Linked DNA regions of Homo sapiens: all the other regions are linked to region 1. The links are contacts of gene promoters, found by promoter capture Hi-C in blood cells and fetal thymus (Javierre and others, 2016). All regions are on one chromosome and are shown on one strand. The core of a region is centred on a gene start or on the middle of the fragment in contact, and the rest is flanking DNA. Distances in the headings are between cores, read along the strand shown. Region 1 overlaps LOC107986715 (a long non-coding RNA gene). Region 2 holds the start of GATAD1 (GATA zinc finger domain containing 1). Region 3 holds the start of RBM48 (RNA binding motif protein 48). Region 4 holds the start of SLC25A40 (solute carrier family 25 member 40).

Evidence for each region. Contacts are between HindIII fragments. The CHiCAGO score rates a contact against its expected background, and 5 or more counts as called.
Region 2: the fragment with the promoter of GATAD1 here is called in contact with a fragment that was not itself captured in region 1 in 3 of 17 cell types (activated CD4 T cells, naive CD8 T cells and total CD4 T cells); the score reaches 7.6 in activated CD4 T cells.
Region 3: the fragment with the promoter of RBM48 here is called in contact with a fragment that was not itself captured in region 1 in 1 of 17 cell types (fetal thymus); the score reaches 5.6 in fetal thymus.
Region 4: a contact is called between the fragment with the promoter of SLC25A40 here and a fragment that was not itself captured in region 1, in 5 of 17 cell types (fetal thymus, total CD4 T cells, activated CD4 T cells and 2 more). The highest score is 11.7, in fetal thymus.

What each region holds. Positions count from the first base shown.
Region 1 is chr7:90,341,566-90,344,865 of GRCh38, reverse strand. It overlaps LOC107986715 (a long non-coding RNA gene), which reads left to right. Exons shown (of 4, transcript XR_001744961.2): 2 at 3,115-3,171. LOC101927446 (a long non-coding RNA gene) reads right to left here. Exons shown (of 6, transcript NR_110085.1): 5 at 3,267-3,300; 6 at 772-2,621. Among named protein-coding and RNA genes, the nearest start is that of GTPBP10, 3.5 kb to the left of the region's middle. The HindIII fragment of the contact is 5,064 bases long and covers 1-3,300 here.
Region 2 is chr7:92,445,971-92,449,146 of GRCh38, reverse strand. It overlaps GATAD1 (GATA zinc finger domain containing 1), which reads right to left and starts at 1,665. Exons shown (of 5, transcript NM_021167.5): 1 at 1,169-1,665; 2 at 270-395. The coding sequence starts at 1,417. RefSeq lists an enhancer at 496-545 and a silencer at 976-1,745. The HindIII fragment of the contact is 4,596 bases long and covers 1-3,176 here.
Region 3 is chr7:92,527,341-92,530,649 of GRCh38, reverse strand. It overlaps RBM48 (RNA binding motif protein 48), which reads right to left and starts at 1,855. Exons shown (of 5, transcript NM_032120.4): 1 at 1,726-1,855; 2 at 984-1,174. The coding sequence starts at 1,836. It overlaps PEX1 (peroxisomal biogenesis factor 1), which reads left to right and starts at 2,130. Exons shown (of 24, transcript NM_000466.3): 1 at 2,130-2,343. The coding sequence starts at 2,215. RefSeq lists enhancers at 1,552-1,931, 2,532-2,711 and a silencer at 2,072-2,301. The HindIII fragment of the contact is 3,452 bases long and covers 1-2,043 here.
Region 4 is chr7:87,874,895-87,878,208 of GRCh38, reverse strand. SLC25A40 (solute carrier family 25 member 40) reads left to right here and starts at 1,849. Exons shown (of 12, transcript NM_018843.4): 1 at 1,849-2,113. DBF4 (DBF4-CDC7 kinase regulatory subunit) reads right to left here and starts at 1,716. Exons shown (of 12, transcript NM_006716.4): 1 at 1,431-1,716; 2 at 1-156. The coding sequence starts at 1,476. RefSeq lists enhancers at 1,437-1,556, 1,744-2,253 and silencers at 1,617-1,876, 2,007-2,456. The HindIII fragment of the contact is 3,397 bases long and covers 1-3,273 here.

The DNA of each region.
Region 1 (3,300 bases), core at 12-2,511:
TGCAGCTAAAATGAACATGAGGCAAAATGTTTAGGACACTATTCAGACCTAAGGCAGAAGTCATTGTTGGAAAATACTACTACTTCTGCCATGAAGAGGAAAGAATGCCTCCTTAGGGTTGCTCAGTTTGATGTATGGGCAAACCATTAAAGTCAGTGGCACTAAAGAGTCTTGAATAAAGTCCCAAATAAGCCATCGACATGACTCACAATTTGGTTTTAAAAATATTTTAAAACAGGCCAGGCGCAGTGGCTCACGCCTGTAATCCCAGCATTTTGGGAGGCCGAGGCGGGTGGATCACGAGGTCAGGAGATGGAGACCATCCTGGCTAACACGGTGAAACCTCGTCTCTACTAAAAATACAAAAAATTAGCCGGGCGTGATAGTGGGCGCCTGTAGTCCCAGCTACTCAGGAGGCTGAGGCAGGAGAATGGCGTGAACCTGGGAGGCGGAGCTTGCAGTGAGCCGAGATAGCGCCACTACACTTCAGCCTGGGCGACAGAGAGAGACTCTGTCTCAAAAAAAAAAAAAAAAAAAACAAAACAAAACCATATATATACACACATACATATATACATACATATACATATATACATATATACATATATACACATATATACATATATATGCATATATACACATATATACATATATACATATATACACATATATACATATATACATATATACACATATATACATATATACATATATACACACACACACACAATAATGAGGGTTATGAAAAAATTTAATATAGAGTTGTTCTAATTACAATTTTAAATAATTTTATTTTGAAGTACTTTTTAATTTACAGAAGTTACAAAAATAGCCAAAAGAGATTCCATGTAATCTTTATCCAGTTTGCCCGAATGTTAACATCTTTTATAACCATTTTTCAAAACTAAAAAAATTAATATTGCTAGAATATTAACTAAACTACAGACTATTTGCTTTCACTGGTTTTTCACCTATGACTTTACTCCAGGGTCTAATACTAACACCACATTGCATTTAATCTAACATTTAATGTAGATACACTTAAGCATAAAATAGACAAATATATAATTAACAAATCTAATATTTTGTGATGTTATATTGCTTAATTTTGTCAGCAGACTAAAATGAAAAGTGTCTAACTTCATTCTGGGCTTTGCAGATTATTTCAATTGATCTTGTGTCATCATCTCAACTGCTTTTAATTAGATTTCTACCTTTTGTCTATCATGCTTTTAGTTCTGCTTGTTCAAGAGTCCCTAACAAGGTCCGTCTGGCTCAGGCCTTGTAATCAGTAGATACTCTAGGAATATTTGTTAATTTATTCAAACGAAAGACAAGAACTAGATTGCTAACTCCTATAGCATACGAATCACCTGAAGTGGAGCATCGAGTTATTCTTACTCATTAGCCTTATAATCCTTCAGATGTAACAAATCAAATATTATTTGTTTCATGCCGTCAAAATATTACAAGTCTGAGAACCATTATATCTCCCAAATGATGAAGTTAAATGGATCAAACAAATGAGGTTTACATACTAGGTAAGACCTCTTTGAGTAAAAATGAAGTATTCTCAAAGAGAGGGCCTCAGGCCATGTAATTATTGTCTTCAAACAAGGCCTATGTGAGGGAAAAAAAGTGGATTTATCTCATTGCCTTTCTTCCTAGGAACTTACACTTCAACTATTCATTCATTTATTCATGCATTAATATAATAATTTCTGTGTTCTGAATTTGTCCCACATACTCAGCTATGTGCTGGAACACTGTCATGGGTACTGAAATAACTAAGCAAGAATAAGCAGAGTAGTTGTGTCAATGACAGAAAGAAGTAAATTTTAATCTTTCTGATACCTGTATTCATAATGAGTGGAGGAAATTTATTCCTATGGAACATGATTTTACTTCGCTGTTAAGGCACTTTGCTTTTAATTTGAAGGATATAATGTAAAGGTTACTTTTTAGGAAGCATTTCTAGAAATCTTGAGAATTAGAATCATTTTTTTAAGACCCCCATTTAAGACCACCTGTACTAGAGGAATAAAACTATTTTAAGGGTCTTCTACTATCCTATTAGTCATCGGTTAGTCTCATTTTTTATACTTTATTTCAATCATTGATAGATGTAAGAATGGCAGTGGAATTATCAGAAGAGACTTTCATGATAATGCTTCCTGTTTGTTCAAACAAGAGGACTTATGAGCAGAAAAGTTCGTAATGTATTCAGGATTCTCACTTACTGATCTCATTTTCTTTGCTTCTTGTTACTGAGATTTCATAAAGCAATAACCACTGACAGTAAATTAAAATTCTTAGATAATATGAATAAGAAACAAAAATAAGAGGCCAGGCATAGTGGCTCACAGCTGTAATCCCAGCACTTTGGGAGGCCAAGGCAGGTTGGTCTCTTGAGTCCAGGAGTTTGAGACCAGCCTGGTGACATGGCAAAACCCTGTCTCTACAAAAAACACAACAAATTAGCTGGGCATGATGGCACACACTTGTAGTCTAAGCTGCCTGTGAGGCTGTGGTGGGAAGATCACCTGAGCCCAGGAGGTTGAGGCTGCAGTAAGCCATGATGATGCCAATGCACTCCAGTCTGGGTGACAGAGTGAGACTGTCTTTAAATAAATAAATAAATAAAATAATGAAATCAGTGCTTATATTAGCGTGTTCATGTGTTATTTTAAGTATTTATTACTACCACATCATAAATTAATCAGAATATTCCCCTTCAAAGGAGATATTGTAAGAATATGTTAGTCATTGTCCTATGCATGTATTATAGACTATCACTCTATACATGGTAAGCTACAGCATTGGGCAGAATAGTAATTGAGCACAATTGTTCCCATTGTATATTCCACATACAACACATAACAGAGTATACTCTGAGAAGGTATAGAACATATACTTATTGGAAGACATGGTTGTATAAGTAAAAATGAAGTTTAATGAGAACTCATTTTATGCGAGTTACACAGAACATAAAAATACAGATTTTTAAAACATTTTTAAAGCATCATAAGCACTTAAAAGAGTCATAATTTTTTTAAATTAGGTCTGTAATAATTATATTTGGCCTTTAACTTTATTTTTTTTCATTCAATCTAGTTCTTGCAACAGCACCGAATTCCTCATTTGGTTACTGTGGAGCTTCCAGAAATTTTGGTATTCATTTCTTATATCTATTTCCTCATTTCCCATGTATTCATCAACCCATTAGAACTTTGCTTCTGTTCTTATTTCAGTAAAATTATACTTACTGGGCCGTTTCCTCAGGCCATATCTTATTTGACT
Region 2 (3,176 bases), core at 416-2,915, 2.1 Mb before region 1:
GGTTGATGTTTCTTTTAAACCCATATTTTATATTTTCCAGGGGAAAAAATAAAAGCTAAAAAACAAAAAGGAAAGAGTATTATTAACTTTATAAACAGTGAGCCTCCTGCAACAGAGCTCATTCCCTTTTGGGGAATCTGGACCATTCCCCAGAATACTAAGGAAGGGCTACCAAGGGCAGAGTCCAAGTTCAATGGTGAGAAATGAAGGCAGTGGCAGGATACACACAACGTCATTACAGTAAAAGGCACTGTCCACAAATATCTTACATTTTTCAATTTAAATATATGTCTTCTCCCTTTTCCTTTGGTGGAGACTTTCTTTTCAGCAGCCGGAGCAGATTTGTATTTAGTGTTTCTGAGCCGAGCAGACCTCCTGTGAATTTCCTGCTTACTCTGTTACACAAACAAATTAAAGAACAAAAAGAGAAAGAAGTAAAAAGTGCATAAAGGTTGCAGTACAATCATCTTACAAGGATCCCAGAGTATGTACTTTATAAGAGCATTTAACAATTAAGATTGCCCTTTTGCTTTTCAAGAGAAGTAATTACAGCAACTAGGCTAAGTAAAACCGGAAGTTCAGCACCCGGAATCTCGGAGCTCGCTGGACAGGCGTCTCCAGAGCCTCCAAAAGGTGTGAGCTGCTTGTAATAGGGCAGGAGGCGGGAGTAGGAGTCAGTCTTGACCAAGACAAACACTATTCATTTGTTGTGTCTACAATAGAGAAAAACACTTAACAACTTTACTCCCTAAGGCCAGAGAACGTAGTAGGTTATGGCGCCCCCTGCAACGGAATACTTAAGCTGCCATTTACAATAATGACATAATAATCTTACTTCATAACCTGATATGACAAAACCTTTAACAAGGAATGAGGTCCAGCGCCTGCATTTGTGGCATGACACTGTATACGACTGTGTAGACATGTGTATATTGAGATTTTCTTAAGGGCTTTACATCTTGGTTCTTATTGCTTTGAATTTCTTACAATAACAGGTGCTTCGGAATGGGCCAAACGAAAGATCTCAGTAGGAGGTGGGGAGGGGCGTTCCAGCCAGCAGGAGCACGGCGATCGGGGAAGCCCGCGCCCGCCCGCTCCCAGCCAGCCCGTCCCCGCCCGCCTAGCACCTGGTCGGCCTCCGCCGGCGGGAGGGGCCGGAGGAGCTCACCTGCTTGCCGCCCCCGCCCCCGTTGCTCTGCGGAGGGGTGGCGGAGGTGCTGGCGAAGGTCGCCGCGCCGAAGCCGCCGCCGCCGCTGCCCCCAGTCCCTCCAGCCGCCCCCGAGCCTGCGCCCCCGCTGCCCGCGCCGCCCCGGCCAGTGCAATGATGGCAGAGGATCTCCCCCTGCGCTCCCTTCTTCCACATGGAGGACGACGTGGTCTTGCATACGCTGCAGGTGGGCTTCAGGCCCAGCGGCATGGTGGCCGGCTCGGGCGGCCCCCGCGGGCGCAGAGACACGGGAATGGCGGACGGTAGCCCGGCCGCCCCCTGGTCGGCCCGCCACTCCCGGCGATAGGAAGAGCGGTGAGAGCGTCGGCACGGAGCTGCCGGTGAAAGGACCAGGCCGCTGGCGCTGCCCCGTGGAGGCGGGAAGCGGGTTCCGCCGGCTCCGCAGGCGGAGGCCAGGATTCCCTGGCCCGAGGCACTGGGAAGCAGGACTGGGAAAGGGATCTGGCCGGGGTGGGGGGGACGCGGAGACTTCCGGCGGTGAGCTGGCCCCAGGGCCCCGCAGCCCGACCGCCTGACCGGAAGTGCAGCACCCGGAATTACTGGGAGCTTGCTGCAGTTCCGCTTGCTGTCGCCTAGGGGCAGGGTTCTCAAACTTTTTGGTCTCAGGCCTAGAATTTGCCGGGTAAAATACAGGACGCCCAATTAAATGTGACTTTCAGGTAAACGACGAACAATTTTTTTAGCGTGAGTGTATCCCATGCAATAATGGTTTATCCGAGAGGCGTTTAACTGGGGGTCCTGTATTTTTATGTGCTAAATCTGGCAATCCAGGTCTGGCGTGGTGGCTCACGCCTGCAATCCCAGCACTTTGGGAGACCAAGGCCGGCGGATTACTTGAGCTCAGGAGTTCGAGATCAGCCTGGCCAACGTGGTGAAACCCCTTCTCTAATAAATATACAAAAATTAGCCGGGCTCAGTGGCGGGCTCTGGGGTAATCCCAGCTACCCTGGAGGCTGCGGCAGAAGAATCTCTTGAGCGCGGGAGGTGGAGGCTGCAGTGAGCCAAGATCGCGCCATTGCACTCCAGCCTGGGGGATAGAGTGAGACTCCGTCTCAAAAAAAAAAAAAAAATCTGGCAATCTTACTTAGGAACCCTTTACACTCTTAAAAATTATACTTTGGACATCGCCCTACACCTCCCCCATGTCTATACTTTTGTTTAGTTGAATTCAGAGCATGCCGTTTATGGACATCGACAAAGGGTTCAGAAAATGCCATCCACTGACATCTATGTATTAGAAATTGAAATTGAGACATTTTACAGCCTAAGATGTCAAGCGCACATTCTTCAGCCGTTGGATAATATCGTTGCAAATCCTGTGGACTCTGAAGAGTATACCGATTAGAGAATGCGGAGAAAATCGAATAGCTGGCTGTTATTCAATTCAAAACTGTTGGAAAACAGTTTTGGCTCTGAGGACCCAGCAGTTGACAAACAGCAGGCCTGGGACAAGAGCAGTATGAGAAGTCAGATCGCCTCTTTTAATGTCACTAGTCAGTACAGGCCTCGCCAGACAAGTCTCTCCTCAGCCTCACTTGGAAGAACATGCCCTCTCTTCATGATCCTGGGTTTCCTAGACTTAGTATCCTTGGAAAGGTCTTGATGAATATATTGTGGTGGGAAGCAGTGGGGAGAAACAAACGCCTATTATGTCACAAAACCACATTTAGTGCTTATAACAACCTTGGAATGAGATATTATCAGATTTTACTGTTAATTGGTGATCAACGGAGGCACTTCTATGTGGACTGGCTGTCATTATAGCTGCTGCCCTTGGCACCAATTTCGAGGAGGGCTTTGGAACAGCCCTCTGGGGTGTGGGTTGTGGCTCAGTCACCTCCCCTCTAAATCTCAGTTTCCTTAACAGTAAAAATAAGTTTCCAGGACTGTTATGGGGATTAGGGCCAACTGTAAAAGTGGCTGAGGAGACTAGGTAAAGAGTGTTGTC
Region 3 (3,309 bases), core at 606-3,105, 2.2 Mb before region 1:
TTTTGTATTTAGTAGAGTGAGGGTTTCACCATGTTGGCCAGACTGGTCTTGAACTCCTGACCTCAGGTGATCCACCTACCTCGACCTCCCAAAGTGCTGGGATTACAGGTGTGAGCCACGTGCCTGGCGTCAAACCAGAATTTTTTTTTTTTTTTGAGACAGAGCCTTGCTCTGTCATCTAGGCTGGAGGGCAGTGGCATGATCTCTGCTCACTGCAATCTCCACCTCCCAGGTTCAAGCAATTCCCATGCCTCAGCCACCTGAGTAGCTGGGACTACAGGTCCGCACCACCACACCCGGCTAATTTTTGTATTTTTAGTAGAGGAGGGGTTTCCATCATGTTGGCCAGGCTTGTCTTGAACCCCTGACCTCAAGTGATCTGCCTGCCTCGGTCTCCCAAAGTGCTGGGATTACAGGCGTGAGTCACCACGCCCAGGCTTCAAACCCAAATTTTTTTTTTTTTTTTTTTTTTGAGGCAGAGCTTCCCTCTTGTTGCCCTGTCTGGAGTGCAATGGCGCAATCTCGGCTCACTGCAACCTCTGCCTCCCGGTTTCAAGCGATTCTCCTGCCTCAGCCTCCCGAGTAGCTGGGATTACAGGCCTGCGCCACTAGACCCAGCTAATTTTGTATTTTTAGTAGAGAGGGGGGTTTCACCATGTTGGCCAGGCTGGTCTCAAACTCCTGACCTCGTGATCCGCCCACCTCGGTCTCCCAGAGTGCTGGGATTGCAGGCGTGAGCCACCGTGCCTGGCCAAACCCAACTTCTACTCTACCAAGCTACAGGACATTAAATTGTTAAGCATGGGAATGATGTGATGGATACAGTGTTTCAGTAAAGTTAACTTTTAAAAAGGCTGGAGGAAGATATGCTAGATTACGTTTTGGGGTAATTCAGTTATGAATGAGGGAAACTTGGGGCCAAAATGACAGAAATATGAATGGAAGAAATGAGGAAATGAGTCATTTCTTAACTTGCACATTACCTTGCACTTTGTAAGTTCATAAATTTAATAAGATAAACTTCAGTAAAGTCTTCTGCTGGGTATTCATCTAGAGCATTGTACTGTTCAATTGCACCATATAAAGCGAATCGCTCAACTAATTCCTTCATGACTCCCACAGCAGGAACTCCTTGTATTAATAAGTACTGAGATTCCAAATTGATTGTATATACCTGAAAGAAATGCAGAGTTATTAAACGTATTTCGCAAATAAGCCTAGGACGAATCTGCCTCTATTTTTTTTTAAAGAGAACTTTGAAAACAAGAAATAATCTGTTCAACCCAGTCAGCAAAAGAACACAAAATGAAATTTCTGCCATTCCTTCTGCATAAAGAATAACAGTCCATGTGAGAGGCTACCTAAGGCATATAACAGACTACCTTCAGTCGACATTTTTTTCCAGAAATTGAGTCGGTAGAAGTCACTGGGAACAATCACTCAACGAATATTCACTGAGTGCTTACCTGTGCCAAGTAGTACTGTAAACACAGAAGATCCAATGACTAAAACCAAGGCCTATTCTCGTGGAGTTGATGTTCTAATACTTGACCAAAGGCGTCGTGAGAATCTTTGGTAACTGACCGAGGGTTCTTCACGCCAGCTCTAACGAGAGACAGATCTGACGGAAGCCTTGTCGTGCCTTTATTTCCGTAGGCTGGTCATATGGCGCTAGCACTCACATAAAGCTACCGAGGAGAGCGAATGAAACCAAAATCACTTTACCTTCACAGCACGAGGCCGTCGTCCCTCTCGATATTTGGCCCGTGTGTCGCATACCGCCCTCTGGACGTGGTGATCAAATAAACTCCCTAGCTCCCCGCCGCTCGACGCCATCTTGCCTACTTTGATCCTCGCAGGGAGGACAACATCCGCCCTACTGAGCTCCCTTTTATCCAATAAGAGAGCGGGATGAGTTAAGGAGTGCCAGGATTGGCTGGAGAATCGACAGCGTCGGCCATCGTTTCCTGCGTGCGAAGATTTGATGAACGAGGTGCCGCCCCCGAGCGGCTCGGCGGAGAGGCGCGGTGGGTGACAGAAGCTTTCTTGTCCCACCCACTACAGGCTTACGGCAGGATGCGCAGCGGGGAGAGGGGGCGGGGCCGCAGGGGGCGGGGCCGATCGATCTCCTCCGGCTCCGACGTCCTCGGCCTGCCGGGTCCCGGGTCCTTTGCGGCGCTAGGGTGGGCGAACCCAGAGCGACGCTCCGGGACGATGTGGGGCAGCGATCGCCTGGCGGGTGCTGGGGGAGGCGGGGCGGCAGTGACTGTGGCCTTCACCAACGCTCGCGACTGCTTCCTCCACCTGCCGCGGCGTCTCGTGGCCCAGCTGCATCTGCTGCAGGTAACCTGCCGGCCCCGAGCCACCTGATCTTCAGCCTGGGGTCGGACGAGGCCGAAGCCTCTCAGGGACGCGGCGGGACACCGGCTGCCACCCGGGCGCCGCCGAAGCGCGCAGAGATCAGGGTCCCTCGACGGCAGGGCCCTTCTGGGTAGTCTCTGGATCCCACAAGTCCAGTGCAGCCCTGGGCTCGTCTTATCCCAGGTCTTTTCACTTGGTGAAACTGAACCTAGAAACGTCCTAATATTCTACCACTGTTTTTATAAATATTCCTTATTCCAGGCTGGAAAAGCTCCTGAGAAGTGGTTTGTTTTTATTATTTTAAAAGGTGTTTTCCTTGCCAGCCATTTCCAGTTAACCTGCGCTGCTGCCGTCCGGGCCGCGAGAGCGGGACGCAGAGTTGTTGGCGGAGCCCCTGTCGGTTCCCGGGGACTAAGCACCGCGTCCCATGAGCGGGAAAGGTTAATACAATGATGGTTCTGCCCTGCGTCGCTGACGCGGAACACAGCTGTAGTGTGTTAGGAACACATAACGTAGTTAAGATCACTTGAAGCTCTGCGATCAGTCGCCCTTCTGGACGTTGTGGTTAGGATGTTTCACAGTTCTAACCACTGGTGGAGATACAGCGTCCATATTTTCATAATTAAAAATAGAGGCACATGGTCTCACGAGTTTGAGTGTACTTATGGGGGCAAAAGGACGGCGTATTTGAAATCCTCATAAATCCTGGATGCATGGTACCCACCAGTGGCTAATCTATGCAATGAATAGAGTTTGCAATAATTTCAAGCATCCCTTCTTTCCACTTGAGTTACTTCCCCATACCTAGGGGAAGATATTTTTGGTCCACTGAAAACATGAGTTCAGCAGAATCCTCCTATCATCGTCGTTATTATTTTTTACCACTAAGTAGACAATCTTTTGGTTTTTGATGGGCTTTATGGCTAGAGACAAATCAGTCACTGTCAC
Region 4 (3,314 bases), core at 600-3,099, 2.5 Mb after region 1:
TGTCCTTTTGAAGTTTTTCAGATATGGTGACAGAAGGTAAGTCAAGGTAAAATACTTTTCCCCAAAGTGGCTTACATTTGGATTTTTCTGGCCTGTTATCAGTTTTCAGAGATTTCAGAGATGGTCTGTTTTTTTCATTTTTGACTTGGATTCCACCTATTAAAGATGTTTAGAATCAGATGTTTTACACAGACACTTTTACTATTTTTAAAATATTTCATTATACAATATTACAGAATAAAAATCCTTACAACCCTACCAGTTTAAGTTATTAGCATTGAAATGTATTTCTTTGTAGTACTACTTAGGATAGAGGCAAAATGCCCTATATACTTTCACAGACCGCATATTGTAAAATAATAGTTGACTCAGCAAGAAATATTCGTGTGTTTATTCCTGAGGCACGGAACTATATAAAACTCTTTTGAAAGATTTTCTTTTTTTAGGATGTAAACTCCATGGGGATATTTAATACTCAACTATTTATTGAGCATCTGCCATTCTGCTGAACATTCAAAACTGGTGTTTAAACTTCATTTAGCGATGAAAGAATCCTCTGTTACGCAGAATAACCTAGTCCTCAAGGGTTTCAGACTGCTCAAGTTTTAGTTTCATATAAAGTTTGTCTGCATATTAACAACTAAACGGTCCATTTCACATACAATTTGTCTACGTATTAAGAACTTAACGGTCCATTACGAAGAACTAAACCTTTCATTATTTTCATTAGAAACAGATCTGAGATCCAAGCAACTGCTTTAAAAATTAATTTTTCAAACGCAATCTGTTCTTAAATTGGTAGTTACTACACACACACAAACACCTGTACAAAAAACTTAGGTGCTGGAATGTTTCACCAAATAAAGTGACTGAAAATGGAAATTTGCTTTTGTTTCCCTGTTTGTAATGTTGAAACCAGCAATGGGGTGTTTGAAATACAATGCTTTCCCCCAACTTATGAGGAAAGGAAAATAAACTTTCAAGGGTAAGACCAAAAATCCACCCACAATCACTCAATCTAATCCTGAAGCGAAAAGCCACGAGCGCGTCTGACTTTAAATTGAGGATGCAGTCCGTCGCCTCCAAGGGCCCGGGCGGAGGCTTAGCATATGCGAGAGCCCGGGAGCAGACAGCGCCGCAGTCCCGGCGAGGTCCCGGATCTGCACATTGTTTGCTAGTTTTCAACCGAAGGCACGACCGGGAATCAATCTGGGACCGCCGCTGTAAACGGCAGAGCGCTCGAGGGGCCGGGTCAGGATCCGTTCCTTCTTAGGCAAAACACTGAACGGGGGCTCCTTCCTTCAGACCCCAGAGGCCGGTCAGAAGAAAAGAAGCTGAGGACCCGGCGGGAGAAGTCTGAAGAATCAATGGTGGAACCACGAGGGGAGGAAAGGATTAAAGGGACTGCAGGCGGAGGAGGGGCTTCTTACCCTGGAAATGTCCTTTACTGTGGATCCTCATGGCTCCGGAGTTCATGGCAGTCGCCCGGCACCTACATGCTGGGTCCGGAGAAAGTGTCGCACCGGGCAGCCGCGAAAGCACGGCTTCCCCCGGCCTGTTGACAGGACGGCCGCCTCTCTCCTTCCGCCAGCTACGGCCTCTACGCAGTAGAGGTACCGCGTCTGCAGGTCGGGTTTCCGGGGCCGGATCCGGCTCCAAGGCGCGGAGGAGGAAGGCGCAAAGCACAAACGAGTGGGCTGCGGCGGTTGAAGATTTGAAAACGCGTCACGCGGCCGCGGCGCCGATACGCGCGCCCCGCCCCGTCTCACGCCACGCGCCGTGCCCCGCCTCGCGCTCGCCCCTCGTGCCTGCCTTCTCGCGCTGCGCGCCCCGCCCCCTCACGCCGCCGTCCTTCTCGCGCCTCGCTCTGGCCCTGCAGGTTGTGTTTCCGCCTCTACCCCGCCTCCATTCCGTTGCTCTCTCAGTCTCAGACCCGGGCTCTCGGTCCGCCGCTTCAGGTCTTGGCGCAGCCTCAGAGAGTTGGCGCGGCTCTGTGTTGACCAAACCTAGTGGATGCAGTTAGCGCCGGAGCCCGGCCCCGCCCGTCACCAGGGTTATTCCCGCCTTCTAGGTTTGCCAGGACTGCCGGCCCTGCAGCTGCCTTCTGCCCCAGGTATGCTAATTTTCCACTGGTCGGACGTCTGGGAAGCTGAAGGCGAGGGGCTTTGGCTGAGTCCGGACTCAGCTCTGGCCGGGCCCGGGGCCGGGGCCGGAACCGGAGCCGGACAGCGGCGGCAGCCGCAGCCCCTGCTCAGCGCGCCCTGGGTCGCACAGCAAGCGGGGTTTTCCCGCGGTCACTGCCGACCCCACCGGCTGAGGACAGCTGCAGAGGGACGTGCGGGAGTGAGGGCGGCCCCGGGGGGCGTCTGAGGGAGGGTCTGGCCAGGCGGCCCCGGCCTTGACGGCAGCGCCACCGCAGAACGCCTCCAGGTCACTTTGTGTCCTTGGGTAGTTGGCTATTTGCGCTGTCCTGTTGACTTTTATTGTATTCAGACCTGTTTTCTTTTAGTTGAGTGTAAGTTTATTTCAACAATGAAGGAGTGGAAAGTAACATCTCATTTTTTTTTCCTGTAAAACAGAGATTAAAGATCAAATTAAAATGCTTGTGAATATATTTTAATTTTATAAGTTGGAACATGCCTCTCCAAAAAAAAAAAAAAATCTGTTTCTTCAGGAGGAAGAGGATATTTTGAACTATTTTGCATTCCTCTACTCCAGGCCATAATAGGCACTCCTGTAGTGGTTGATTTTTTTACCTGGTAGCTCAAGGAAGTCAGAGTATCAGCGTTACGGTTTTGCAGGTAGGTACCTTAAAGAATAGACAAGGGTGGGTTGTGACAAGATTAGCTGGAGAACGCAGAGAACAGGTTTGCTAAGGGAAATGAGAGTTTGGTTTTAGACAGGTTTATGTTGAAGGGCCTGGGGCGACAGTCATGGAACTATGCTTATTAGACAGTTAAAGATGTTTATGACTCGAGAGAAATGTCTAGCAGAAGTGGACATGGGAAGAGGAAATAGAGATTGATTTGATATCTCTCCAATAAAATATTTCTGCATCAAGGTCTATTGATGTCAATCATGGGGCAATTCATTAGAGGTTAACAGATCTTGAGTGGTGGAAGGAAGTGTAGTTTGAACAAACATATTCAATATTGTAATTTCTATGGGAAAAAACTTATTTTCAAAATATAAGCTACAGAGAGCACAAAATGTTTATATTTACAGAAAGATTTAAAAAGTTGGGAAGCACTAATATAGAATGTAGTTAAAGCTTTGGGAGGAAATGAAATTGCCAAGGAGAGCATGTGAAATAA